4 separate regions of the Homo sapiens genome follow, and regions 1, 2 and 4 are each linked to region 3. Evidence: promoter capture Hi-C in 16 types of primary human blood cells and fetal thymus (Javierre and others, 2016). All regions are on one chromosome and are shown on one strand. Each heading gives the region's core, a stretch centred on a gene start or on the middle of the fragment in contact. The rest is flanking DNA. Distances are from core to core; before and after follow the strand shown. Region 1 has its middle 13 kb from the start of DHRS7B. Region 2 has its middle 18 kb from the start of LINC01563. Region 3 holds the start of TMEM11 (transmembrane protein 11). Region 4 has its middle 33 kb from the start of MAP2K3.

Region 1 (3,129 bases), core at 387-2,886, 100 kb before region 3:
AAAGCTGTTGGAACACCCAAAAAACACGTTAAGACTCGAGAGAGATGTGACTGTGATTTGAGTCACATGTGGTTACAATGTCTGCTCTCAGATTATAGATTAACTCACTTTCTTAGTTTTCTTGTCCTGTACAATGACTAGAGAGAACTAAAGGACATTAGGGACAAAACCCTCCTGCCTTCTTTTTTTTCTTTTTTCTTTTTTTTTGAGACGGAGTTTTGCCCTTGTTGCCCAGCTGGAGTGCAGTGGCGTGATCTTGGCTCACTGCAACCTCTGCTTCCTGGGTTCAAGCGATTCTCTTGCCTCAGCCTCCCAAATCGCTGGGATTACAGGCATGCGCCACCACACCGGCTAATTTTGTATTTTTAGTAGAGACGGGGTTTCTCCATGTTGGTCAGGCTGGTCTCGAACTCCCGATCTCAGGTGATCTGCCTGCTTTGGCCTCCCAAAGTACTGGGATTACAGGCGTGAGCCACCATGTCTGGCCTTGCCTTCTTAATTAATGACCCTTGTTAAATATTAACTTCCTGGCCAGGTGCAGTGGCTCACACCTGTAATCCCAGCAATTTGGAAGGCTGAGGCAGGCAGATCACCTGAGCCCAGGGTTTCAAGACCAGCATGGGCAACATGGCAAAACCCTGTCTCTACAAAAAACACAAAAATTAGCTGGGCATTGTGGCATGTGCCTGTAGCCCCAGCTACTCAGGAGGCTGAGACAGGAGGATCACTTGAGCACAGGAGGCAGGGGCTGCAGTGAGCCGAGATCATGCTATTGCACTGTAGCCTGGGTGACAGAGCAAAACCCTGTCTCAAAAAAAAAAAAAAAAACAAAAAAAACCCTGTCTCAAAAAAAAAACAAACTTCTCTTTTTTGTCCTGCTGTGCTTAGACTAGATGACAGAAACCTCATGATTATTAGACCCTCTGCAAAAAAAAAAAAAAAAATGTTAAATGTACCCTTCCCAAAAGAAGTACTACCTATAATTAATCAATTTGCTGTAACCGTGTGCTATCCTTGTATGAATAATGTTGTAATCTTGCAAAACTCCTCTGTCTCTGCCTATACAAATGAAATCGCTAAACGTCCCTATTTTGAAACGCTGACCTCATTCCTTTGGAGTTGGTGTTGGTAGCCTAGCCTTACACTTTGTGACTGAATAAACTCTCTTTAAATTAGATTCTGACCCTTTTGATTATTTTACATTGATGGAGTTTACAAAGTATAATGCACATTGTTAATTTTTTCTCAGTTACTTAAATTTTATTCACATGGTTCAAAAGCATTAAGTTAATACATTAAAATAACAATAAATAAAAAGTAAAGAATTCACTTAGTGACCTGTTCCCTCATTCTTATCCCCCCATCCCAGTTTCCATGTCCCATCCTTTGTGTGGTTTCTGAGCCTAGCTCCTTATGGATCTGTGTTTTGATTGGGCTGCAAATATTCACTCCTGTCACCTCTCCCCATTGTGGTAGAGTTCACTTCTCTTTTTGGCTGACTTTGGGCTTTGCCATATGTAGTGTACTTCGTTTGGGCACAAGTGAAAGTGTGTCATATCCAAGCAGAGGCTTTAGGAGGACTGATAAGTTCCCCCTAGACCTCTTGCACTCTTGCCATCTGCCATGACAAGGACTTGCCCCAGGTAGCCTCTGTACCTTCAGACTGGGTCCCAAAATGAGAGACATGTGGAGCACATGTGAACCTAATCGGCAGCCCAAACCACCTGACCTACAGATCTCTGAGCAAGAAAATGTTGGTCGCAAACCAATTTTAACAATGGTGGGGGGCAAACCAATTTTAACAATGGTGGGGGCAGTATTTGTTAATTTTTTTTTTTTTTTTTTTTTTTTTTGAGACGGAGTCTCCCTCTCGCCCAGGCTGGAGTGCAGTGGCGCGATCTCGGCTCACTGCAAGCTCCGCCTCCCAAGTTCACGCCATTCTCCTGCCTCGGCCTCCCGAGTAGCTGGGACTACAGGCACCCGCTACCATGCCCGGCTAATTTTTTTGTATTTTTAGTAGAGACGGGGTTTCATCATGTTAGCCAGGATGGTCTCGATCTCCTGACCTTGTGATCCGCCCACCTCGGCCTCCCAAAGTGCTGGGATTACAGGCGTGAGCCACCGCGCCCAGCCAATATTTGTTAATATTATCACAGTAAAATCAAGTCTCACTTTGCTTTTTTAAACTTTATATATGTCACTAAGATATGTAGTGACTTCTCCTGTTGGTGCATAGAGTTACTTCTTTGAGTTTCATGGTATTACAGTGTGTGGCTATACTCCGATGGATTTAACCAGGCTTCCATTAATGGATATTTGAGTTGGTTCAATCTTTTGCTATCAAAAATAAGGATGTATTACATAGTCTTGTACATACATCATTTTGCATATGTATTCGTCAGGGTTCTCTAGAGAGACAGGACTAATAGGATAGATGTGTATATGAAAGGGAGTTTATTAAGGAGTATTGACTCACAGGATCACAAGGTGAAGTCCCACAATAGGCCATCTGCAAACTGAGGAACAAGGAAACCAGCCCAAGTCCTAAAACCTCAAAAACAGGGAAGCCGACAGTACAGCCTTCAGTCTGTGGCCAGAGGCCCAAAAACCCCTGGCAAACCACTGGTGTAGGTCCAAGAGTCCAAAAGCTGAAGAACTTGGAGTCCGTTGTTCGAGGGCAGGAAACATCCAGCACAGCAGAAAGATGAAAGCTGGAAGACTCAGCCAGTCTAGTCCTCCTGTGTTCCTCTGCCTGCTTTTATCCTAGCTGTACTGGCAGCTAATTAGATGGTGCCCATCCAGATTGAGGGTGGATCTGCCTCTCTTAGTCCACTGAATCAAATGTTAATCTCCTTTGACAACACCCTGATGGACACACCCAGGAACAATACTTGGCATCCTTGAATCCAATCAAGTTGACACTCAGTATTAACCATCACAGCACATATGTAAATATATCTATAGAATCATGGAAGTGCTCAGATGGGGGCATACATGAAATTTGAAATATTGAAAGATGTTCCTCAATTGCCCTACTTAGGGATTGTGCTTAGAACAATGACACTGATCATCAGTTAATGCTGGATTAAATGAAGAAAACGCTTTAGTATTTCTGTCACTTGCATTCCT
Region 2 (3,086 bases), core at 537-3,036, 120 kb before region 3:
GGTTCATGCCTATAATCCCAGCACTTTGGGAGGCCAAGATGGGAGGATTGCTTGAGCCCAGGAGTTTGAGACCAGCCTAAACAACATAGCGAGACTCCGTCTCTACTAAAAATACATAAATGAGCTGGGTGTAGTAGCTTGCATCTGTAGCCCCAGCTACTCAGGAGGCTGAGGTGGGAGGATCACTCAAGCCCAGGAGGTTGAGGCTGCAGGGCTGTGATCGCACCACTGCATTCCAGCCTGGGTGACAGAATGAGACTGTCTCAAAAAAAAAAAAAAAAAAAAAAAAAGGGCTAGGCGTAGTGGCTCACATCTGTAATCCCAGCACTTTGGGAGGCCGAGGCAGGCGGATCACTTGAGGTCAGGAGTTCAAGACCAGCCTGGCCAACATGTGAAACCCCGTCTCTACCAAAAAATACAAAAATTAGCTGGGCGTGGTGGCACGTGCCTGTGATCCCAGATACTTGGGAGGCTGAGGTGGGAGGATTGCTTAAACTAGAGGCGGAGGTTGCAATGAGATGAGATCACACCACTGCACTCCAGCCTGGGTAACAGAGTGAGACTGTCTCAAAAATAAAATAAATAAGTAACATTTTTTTCTGACCTTCCCTGTTCTTTCTGAGACCCCCTTGTTAAATTTTAAGACTTGCAGTTTTTGAGGCCTGGTTCTGAAGTGAACTACTCAGCATTACTTGCAAAGGACAGACCTGCAAAGTGACGTTTTGCTGGCAGAAATGGAGAAGGAGCTGAGTACAGATTTCATGTAATAAAAGTGAAATGAAAATGAAGTGCACGTGGAAATGTTCTTCTCTGAAACGAATTAGACTATCCTGTATTTAGCTGTTTTGGGGAAAACATTCAATATTAATATCTCTTATGCTTCTTGAAACCACCCCCACCACCTTCTTCTTCTTTTTTTTTTTTTGAGACAGAGTCTGTCTTTTGTCACCCAGGCTGGGATACAGTCGCATGATCGTGGCTCACTGCAACCTCCACCTCCCAGGTTCACGTGATTCTCCTGCCTCAGCCTCCCAAGTAGCTGAGATTACAGGCGTGTGCCACCACACCCAGCTAATTTTTTTTTTTTTTTTGAGACAGAGTCTTGCTCTTGTTGCCCAGGCTGGAGTGCAGTGGCGTGATCTTGGCTCACTGCAACCTCCGCCTCCCAGGTTCAAGCTATTCTCATGCCTCAGCATCCTGAGTAGCTGGGATTACAGGTGCCCGCCACCACGCCTGGCTAATTTTTGTACTTTTAGTAGAGACGGGGTTTCACCATGTTGGCCAGGCTGGTCTCAAACTCCTGACCCAGGTGATCCGCCCGCCTTGGCGTCCCAAAGTGCTGGGATTACAGGCTTGAGTCACTGCATCCAGCCTTTTTTTTTTTTTTTTTTTGTATTTTTTTAGTAGAGACGGGGTTTCACCATGTTGGCCAGGCTGGTTTCGAACTCCTGACCTCATGCAATCTGCCCGCCTTGGCCTCTCAAAGTGCTGGAAGTACAGGCATGAGCCACTGCACTCGGCCACCCCTTTTTCATCTATGTTTGTGTGGTCTTTACAACTGCCCCATGAAGCAGGCATCAATTTCCATTTCACCCACAAGGGACTGCGGCTCAGAGGCCCAAATTCACACAGTTTTAGTGGTGGCTGAGGATGTGAAGCTGGCTTTCTGAGGCCTTGATAAGCTTCAGCAATAACAAGGCTGACTGATACTTATTAAGTAGTTACTATGTACCAAGACCTGTTCTATTGCGATACATAGATCCATCCATCCACCCATCCATCCATCCATATACAGTTGACCTTGAACAATCGGTGGGCGGGGGTGGGGGGGTGTTAGGAACACCAACCCCCTACACAGTTGAAAAACTGCATATAACATTGGATTCCCCCAAAGCTTAACTACCAACAGCTTACTGTTGATGGGAAGCCTTACTGATAACATAAAGTTGATTAGCACATTTTTTTAATGTTATATATATTCTACTCTGTATTCTTAACAATAAAGTAAGCTAGAGAAAAGAAACCATTATTTAGAAAACCAGGCTGGGCATGCTGGTGCACACCTGTAGTCCCAGCTACTTGGGAAGCTGAAGCAGGATGATCGCTTGAGCCCAGGAGGTTGAGGTTGCAGTGAGCCGAGATCCCGCCACTGCACTCCAACCTGGGTGACAGAGAGAGACCCTATCTCAAAAAAAAAAAAAAAAAGAAAGAAAGAAAGAAAGAAAAGAAAAGAAAAGAAAATCAGGCCGGGTGCAGTGGCGCACACCTGTAATCCCAGCACTTTGGGAGGCCAAGGCAGGAGGATCACTTGAGTCCATGAGTTTGAAACCAGCCTGGGCAACATAGTGAATTCCTGTCTCTACAAAAAATACAAAAATTAGCCAGGAGTAGTGGTGCACACCTGTGGTCCCAGATACTCTGAGGCCGAGGTGGGAGGATCACTTGAGCCTGGAGGTCAAGGCTGCAGTGAGCTGAGATTGTGCCACTGCACTCCACCATGGGTGACAGAGCAAGACACTGTCTCAGAAAAAAAGAGAAAATAAAATTATAAGGAAGAAAATATATTTAGTGGGTCGTCATAAAAGTCTTCATCCTCATCATCTTCATGTTGAGTAGGCTAAGGCAGAAGAGGATGAGGGGGAGAAAGAGGAGGAGGGAGAGGGGGAGGAGGGGTTGGTGTTGGGGTCTCAGGAGTGGTAAAGAAGTGGTGGAGGAGATGGAAGGGGAGACAGAAGAGGCAGGCACATTTTATTTTTTTAAATCCGTTTATAAATAGACTCATCCAGTTCAAACCTGTATTGTTCAAAGGTCAACTGTATGTATAATTTAAACCTCATAACAACCCAATGAGGTAGTTGAGACTGGCTCTGTCTGATGTTGACTCATTAGACTCTTCAACCCAGAACATATTTACACTTCAAAAAGTAAAAAGGAAGGCCAGCCGTGGTGGCTTACATCTGTAATCCCAGGGCTTTGGGAGGCCAAGATGGGAGGATTGCTTGAGGCTAGGAATTCAACATCAGCCTGGGCAACAATAGCAAGACCCTGTCACCACCAAAAAAAAAAAAGTTAGCCAAGCATAGTGG
Region 3 (3,296 bases), core at 168-2,667:
GTTTCTAATACTTTGTTTTCTAAACAGGTTATTTCGTATTACTGTTTGCATTGAATATCTTGAAAATGTTTGCTAGTTTTTAAGAGCATCTGAAAACCATTGAGGTAACTTATTTAAATGGTCCAATCTAATACCAGGCGGGAGTTAGAAAAACAAAAGTGTGTTTACCACTGCTTTTCCAAGGAAGAGGAAATGCAGAATGGGCAACGCTGGATAACTGGGCTAAAGAATAAAGTGCAAGCAAGCTAAAGGATTCTATCACAACTGCCAAACAGGAAGAATCTTCCCAGCTGGGAAAGCCATCTGCAAGCAATAGCAATGAACACGGGATGGAATCAGTCACAGAAAAGGAATAATGCAGAGTAGTTGAGAGGAAGATAACTTTTCTGTTAGACAATCCTCACCAAAAAGACGGGGAGGGGGAGAACCAGCAAAACAAAAACTTTTCCTTTTTTGCTGACCGCTGCTATAACAATCAAGCTTTAGCGGACAGTTAATCCAGGTGGCTCCACCAATACATCTTCTCCCAAATTTCTAGTGGCTGAACAGCTTCTAGTGGTTTCCACTAGCTGAAACTGCTTCCCAGATGCAAAAACTGCAACTTGAACATGAAACACGGAAACTACTCCAATCTCATCTTCTAGAAATCAGTTATTCAAATGGAGGTCCCTGTTGGAAGAAACACGCTCCTAGCTCCCTGCCCACACACCATTCATTAGGAAAGGTCACTTTAAAGGACTTCTACGGCAGGAGCGCTTGCACAGAACCATCCAAAAGTCTTCAGAATCTTCCCTCGAGGAAGTGGCCGGCTCTGGGCTCGGAAGAGACACATCTGGCGGGAGCTAAAGCTCCCTAGTAAACGTGCAGATCAAACTACCCCTGCCGCGGCCGGCCTGCTCTGTGAAGGCTTCCCCTTCTTTCTCTCTCCGGGGGCCCTGCCTTCCTCTACACGTCTGGGGCCGCGGCCGAGATGGCCACGCGCGTGCCCAGGCGGGAAGGGTGCTTCAGCAGCCGATCGGCCCGCGGGCAGCTAGGCGGGTCCCTGAGGCCTGCGCTGGGCGCCAGTTCCTTTCAGCACGGCCCGGCCTCGGGCCCCGCCCCGCATGGCCGCTGCCTACCTTACTCAGCCCGGCTAACGCCCCTTCCCCTAAGCTCTCCGCCGAGGCCTTCGACCTCGCTCCCACCCGGATCCCGGATCCTCCGGAACTGGAACCCAGTATGCCCGGCGAGGGTAGGGGGAGCGCGGGGAAACCAGGGAAGGAAGGCTGCTGCAGCCCTCGGAGGCCGCGCTGGGCTCTCCGGCCGCTGAGCCGCCTGCACTGGGGGCAACAAGCCCTTGGATCTCACCTCTCTCGGGCGCTGCCGCCACTGCTGCCCGGGCCAAGACGCCTCCTTCCCCAAGCGGCCATCTTGGAGACACTCTGCTTGCCAACGTCTCGCGCCAAGGCGGCATCGGGAGAGCAGGCGGGCCGACGGGAAGTGTAGTCCGGCCTGCGGTCCGGGGCCGCTCGGCAGGCGGAAGCCAGACCCGGCGGAACTACCGTGCCCACAAGGCAGCGCGCCGGAAGCCCCGCCCCCGGGGTCGCCGGGGCCCGTAGTCCTTCTGCGAGGGCGCGAGGACTCCAGGAGCCGTCCTGGTTCGAGCATTTCTGAAGAAACTGAGTTCCCGGCGTTCGCAGCCTGGGAGTCACAGGCGCCCACCCACCGGTAGGTCCTTGAGTTTCGAGAGCCAGTAGCTGAAGGAGAGAGGAGAGGCAAGTGCCTACAACTCCCAGAGCACTGCGCGGAGGCGCCCGGCCGCGCTGTCCTGGCCGCCAGGCTGCCTCTCCCGCTGGGGGCCGCCGCGCTGTCTGCGGGCTACTAGCGCCGGGCCCCTCCGCGTCGCCACGCCTGCCCTTCACAGCCTTGGCCCATAAGGTCACCGAGGGGCGGGAGGCGCCGCCCGGGCCCTCCTTGGAGGCGGGCGCTGCTCCCGCACCATCCTCCCCCAGTTCTCTTAGACTCCGGGGTACTTTGGAGGCCGAGACAGACACGCTGTCCCTGCTGCCACGGAGGTCCCTGCTTGCAGGTGCAGGCTGTTAGAGGAGAGGGTCTGAAAACAAGAAAGGGGAATAGCTGTATGATAACTGCTTGAAGGCGAGAGGGCCCAGCGACAGCTCTGTTTTAGACAGGGCCTCCAGGCCTCTTAGACTCAGTCCCTGCCACGCACCCACTCCTGCCCTGGCCGCTGCGACGGCATAATCTCGGGATCTTTGAAGGCAGATGCGGGGCTAAACCATCCCACCTGACGGGAACCCTGCCACAGGACCCGACATATCCCTGTCTGGACACTGCTGTAACGAGTCAAAGTCAGGAAGGACTAACTGGAGCCCAGAGATTCCCAGGTGCTGCTGCCTCAGACCTGTGGACTCTTTGGAGGATCTCTTACAGTTTGTGAACTTCTCAGTTCCTCTACTGCTCCCACAGACAACGTTGCTAAACATATTAATTGGTCCCATAAATACTTGAGCAAAACAAATGCGAAAATCTGTCCCGAATTCAGCCTAGAAGAAGCCCAGCCCTGCGCGTCACACTTCTGTGTAGTGGAACCCCCCTTCCCACCCCGCCGCAGGCCACAGCAGGAGGGCCAGCAGACGGAAAGGCGACCCTCTCCTTGTTGAGGATTCCTTTCGATTTCCTTCCAGCTGACATTCTACCACAGTTTTAGCTGCTTGCAATCCTCTCACCGTCCCTCATCACCTACAGTGTGTGATTCAAATTCCTTAGCACAATCAAGAAGCCCCTCCTTAGTTTGGAAGTTGCCTAGCTCTCCAAATTCAACTGCCTACCTTTCCCGTCTGGAACTTGCCAGGCTAGTAAATTCAGAGGGTTTGCAGATACGTAGATGTTCTATGCTTTACCTAAAATGCTTTTACCTCCCAGCCAACTTTTTTTTTTTTTTTTGAGACAGAGTCTTGCTCTGTCGCCCAGGCTTGAGTGCAGTGGTGCGATCTTGGCTCACTGCAACCTCCGCCTCCCAGGTTCAAGCAATTCTCCTACCTCAGCCTCCTGAGTACCTGGGATTACAGGTGGTGCCACCACACCCAGCTAATTTTTGTATTTTTAGTAGAGACGGGGTTTCACCATGTTGGTCAGGCTGGTGTCCAACTCCTGACCTCATGATCCATCCCCCTCAGCCTCCCAAAGTGCTGGGATTTACAGGCATGAGCCACGGTGCCCAGCTCTCCCAGCCAACTTTTGTCCTTCAAGACCTTGTACCTGTCTGGTCTCTAAAAAGTACCTGGCCTTCCTGTTGA
Region 4 (3,142 bases), core at 453-2,952, 100 kb after region 3:
GGGAGCGCTCGGCTTCTGCTGAATGAACACATGAAAGAATGAATGAGGGAGGGAGGGAAGGGGGGAGGGAGGGAATGAATCCCTTGCCGGGGCGCGGCCCCAGGCTCTGTCTCCTGTAGCCGCCAGGGGGCGGTAGAGCTCGGCTTCAACCGCGTGTCCTGGAGCCCCGCCCGGCCCCGAGCGCCCGTCCGCGTCCTCGTGCGTCCTCGGCGCAGCTGGAGGCCGCGGGCTTGCCACGCGTCAGCCCAGTTCTCGGCCTCTGCGGCTGTCCTGCCCGTGTGCACCCCCTGGCCCGGCCCTCGGGGCTTCCGGGGACTCTGCAGCCTGCAGACAGCAGCAGACCCAACGCCTAGAGATTTACCGTGCGCGCCCCTGAAGTTACCCAGCGCCCCGCAGGCCACCGCGCCCCTCGCGGCTCGCAGGCCTGGCTGGACGCCGCAGGCCTGGCTGGATGCCGCAGCCCTTCACAGAGAGCAGGCTCCTCCGCGCACGACTGCAGCCCCAGTCGTTTGCAGTTCCCTTGCCATTTATGGGACCCTTTGGCTTTTACAGAGCGTGTCCAGCCATCAGAGTGCGGAAGCCAGTGCGCAGGTCACTAACATTTACAAAGCACAGGCCCTTGACAGTTTATACTACCCGTGGAGGTCTCAAGCGGCAGGGCCCCTCTCCCCTGTTCCCTGTCCCTGAGGTGGGGGAATGGGGATGGGGAGCGGCCGCCCCCCCCTCCCCCGAGGCCGGACGCCCGCATTTCCTGTCAGGCAGCAGGGTCCGGGCAGGCGCCTCTTCCAGGCCCGGGATTAATGAGTCTCTGGACTGGGAGATGGCAGAGGCATGTAGACTTTGTTCAATTACAGCCGTGAGAGCCTCCTCATCAGGCAGCATTAAAACTGCAGCAGACAGGCCGGGCGTGTTGGCTCACGCCTGTAATCCCAGCACTTTGGGAGGCTGAGGTAGGTGGATCACCTGAGGTCGGGAGTTCGAGACCAGCCTGGCCAAGATGGTGAAACTGCGTCTCTACTTAAAAAAATACAAAAATTAGACGGGCATGGTGGCGCACATCTGTAATCCAAGCTATCTGGGAGGCTGAGGCAAGAGAATCGCTTGAACCTGGGAGGCAGAGGTTGCAGTGAGCTGAGATCGAGGTGCTACACTCCAGCCTGGGGGGCAGAGTAACACTCCGTCTCAAAAAAAAAAAAAAAAAGAAAAAAGAAAAAAATGCAGCAGACAGGCCTGCTCAGGAGCAGGGAGGCTGCGGAGGGAGGATTTGGCGAATTCCCTTCTAGAGGCCAGGGCGTGAAGCCTCTCCTCCAGATCCCTGCTGCAGCTACCGTCTTCGGTGGGGGCCTCCTCATGGTCCACAGTGCCCCACCCCGGGCGCCCACCCCTGCCTCCCCTGTACCCTGTGCCTGGCTCCCTGCGCTTCACCCCGAGCCTGGCGGTGCAGGGCCTCTGCAGGAGCTGTCTTGTTCTCCTCCCGGAACGCTCTTCCCCGGATGTGCTCCCGCTTTGGGGTCTGCTCAGATGCCTCCCTGACCACACTTGTCCTGCCGCACTTTCTTCACATTTATTCATTTTCATTCTTGCCCACTGGCCGCCTCCCCCGCAAGACCAGGAGGAGCCGGCCTTGCTCACAGGAGACAGGGCAGGTGCAGGAAGGCTGCCGCAAGGCCCAGCGCAGGCAGCAGGCAGCAGGGCTGTGCGGGAGGTGGTCTGGGGACAGTGCTGCCATTCCGTTTATTCCGGGGGTCTGCTCTGGGAAGGCTTTCCAGGAGCGAGCCGATACTGAGCCGATAGGCGCGTTGTGCTGGCTGAGGACTCTGCACCTCAGAGAAGGGAAGCCAGGAGCTCCAAGTCAAACAGCAGGCAGCACCCGTGCCGGGGGTTAGCGTCCCGGCTGCGCTCCCGCTCCCATGCCCTCCCTCGGGGCCGAGCTCTGCTTCTGAGGGCGGAGCCCAAGGAGGCCCGTGCTGCCCACCTGGCGGCTCAGGCTCCAGCAGCCCCGAAACTGTGGTCAAGTCCCTCTTCCCCCAGGGAATCGGCAGGGGCCGGAAGGATTGAATATGTCCCCCAAGCTGCTGTGTTGGGAGGTGGGGCCTCACAGCAGGATTAGATCCTGGGGGCCTGCCCTCCTGAATGGATGAATGCTGCCAGCCATCTCCCAGTGGGTTAGTTACCGAGGGGGTTGGTTGTAATAAAAGGGCGTTTTGCCCTCCCCTGCTGCCTCCAGCACTCTCTTGCCTTTCGGCCTTCCTTCAGCCATGGGAGGACACAGCAGGGAGGCCTTGTCAGATGCCGGCCTGGATCTTGATTTCCCAGCCTCCAGAACCCTGAGAAATTTCTGTTGTTTAGAAAGTACCCAGTCTGGGCTGGGCACATGGCTCACACTTGTAATCCTAGCACTTTGGGAGGCCAAGGCGGGCGGATCGCTTGAGGCCAGGAGCTCACGACCAGCTGGGGCAACATAGCAACACCTCATCTGTACAAAAAAGCCAGGTGTGGTGGTGCATGTCTGTAGTCCCAGCTACTCCAGGAGCTGAAGTGGGAGGATTGCCTGAGCCCAGGAGTTCGAGGCTGCAATGAGCGGTGATTGCCACTGCACTCCAGCCTGGGTGACAGATTGAGACCCTGTCTCAATTTAAGAAAAGAATGAAGAAGAAATCATCCAGTTTGTGGTATTTTGTTATAGCAACAATGAAACAGATGAATACAGGCCCCCAACACCAGCATTATCTCATCCTGGTTTCCCTGTGGGCAGGGGCTGTGGTGGGCAGGCAGGACCAGTCACCTCATCTTCCAACAGGGGCTTCGCATCTGACCACACCTCTCCCTGATGCACCAATCCTCTCAACCACACCCCCACCAAGGCCTGCTGGCCTCTGCTTGCATACCTGCCCTGATGGGGAGCTCACTCCCATACAGACGCGATTCCTGGAGGGATCTGGGTTCCATCTTCTTTTCCCTGTTCTAGTTCCCCAGGCCTGTGACGTGAGGGGCCCATGTGTAAACCCTGGCTCACTCTCAATGCTCATTTCTTTGCCTCTTGTGAAAGCTGTTGCAAATCCTTTTGGAAACCAGGTGGGAGGGTCTATATATACACTGGCTGTACTATGTTTATCAGAGCTTGTGTATCTTCACGCCCAGG

Evidence for each region. Contacts are between HindIII fragments. The CHiCAGO score rates a contact against its expected background, and 5 or more counts as called.
Region 1: a contact is called between a fragment that was not itself captured here and the fragment with the promoter of TMEM11 in region 3, in 1 of 17 cell types (neutrophils). The highest score is 10.1, in neutrophils.
Region 2: a contact is called between a fragment that was not itself captured here and the fragment with the promoter of TMEM11 in region 3, in 1 of 17 cell types (total B cells). The highest score is 7.5, in total B cells.
Region 4: a fragment that was not itself captured here is called in contact with the fragment with the promoter of TMEM11 in region 3 in 2 of 17 cell types (erythroblasts and neutrophils); the score reaches 5.5 in erythroblasts.

The regions. Positions count from the first base shown.
Region 1 is chr17:21,112,409-21,115,537 of GRCh38, forward strand. No RefSeq gene overlaps it. Among named protein-coding and RNA genes, the nearest start is that of DHRS7B, 13 kb to the right of the region's middle. The HindIII fragment of the contact is 4,183 bases long and covers 1-3,129 here.
Region 2 is chr17:21,091,564-21,094,649 of GRCh38, forward strand. No RefSeq gene overlaps it. Among named protein-coding and RNA genes, the nearest start is that of LINC01563, 18 kb to the left of the region's middle. The HindIII fragment of the contact is 212 bases long and covers 1,681-1,892 here.
Region 3 is chr17:21,212,744-21,216,039 of GRCh38, forward strand. It overlaps TMEM11 (transmembrane protein 11), which reads right to left and starts at 1,418. Exons shown (of 2, transcript NM_003876.3): 1 at 1,348-1,418. The coding sequence starts at 1,409. TMEM11-DT (TMEM11 divergent transcript) reads left to right here and starts at 1,582. Exons shown (of 2, transcript NR_184102.1): 1 at 1,582-1,707. RefSeq lists enhancers at 1,320-1,419, 2,190-2,399 and silencers at 1,500-1,639, 1,760-2,029. The HindIII fragment of the contact is 13,322 bases long and covers 479-3,296 here.
Region 4 is chr17:21,316,593-21,319,734 of GRCh38, forward strand. No RefSeq gene overlaps it. Among named protein-coding and RNA genes, the nearest start is that of MAP2K3, 33 kb to the left of the region's middle. RefSeq lists enhancers at 421-930, 1,268-1,944, 1,945-2,621. The HindIII fragment of the contact is 4,272 bases long and covers 1-3,142 here.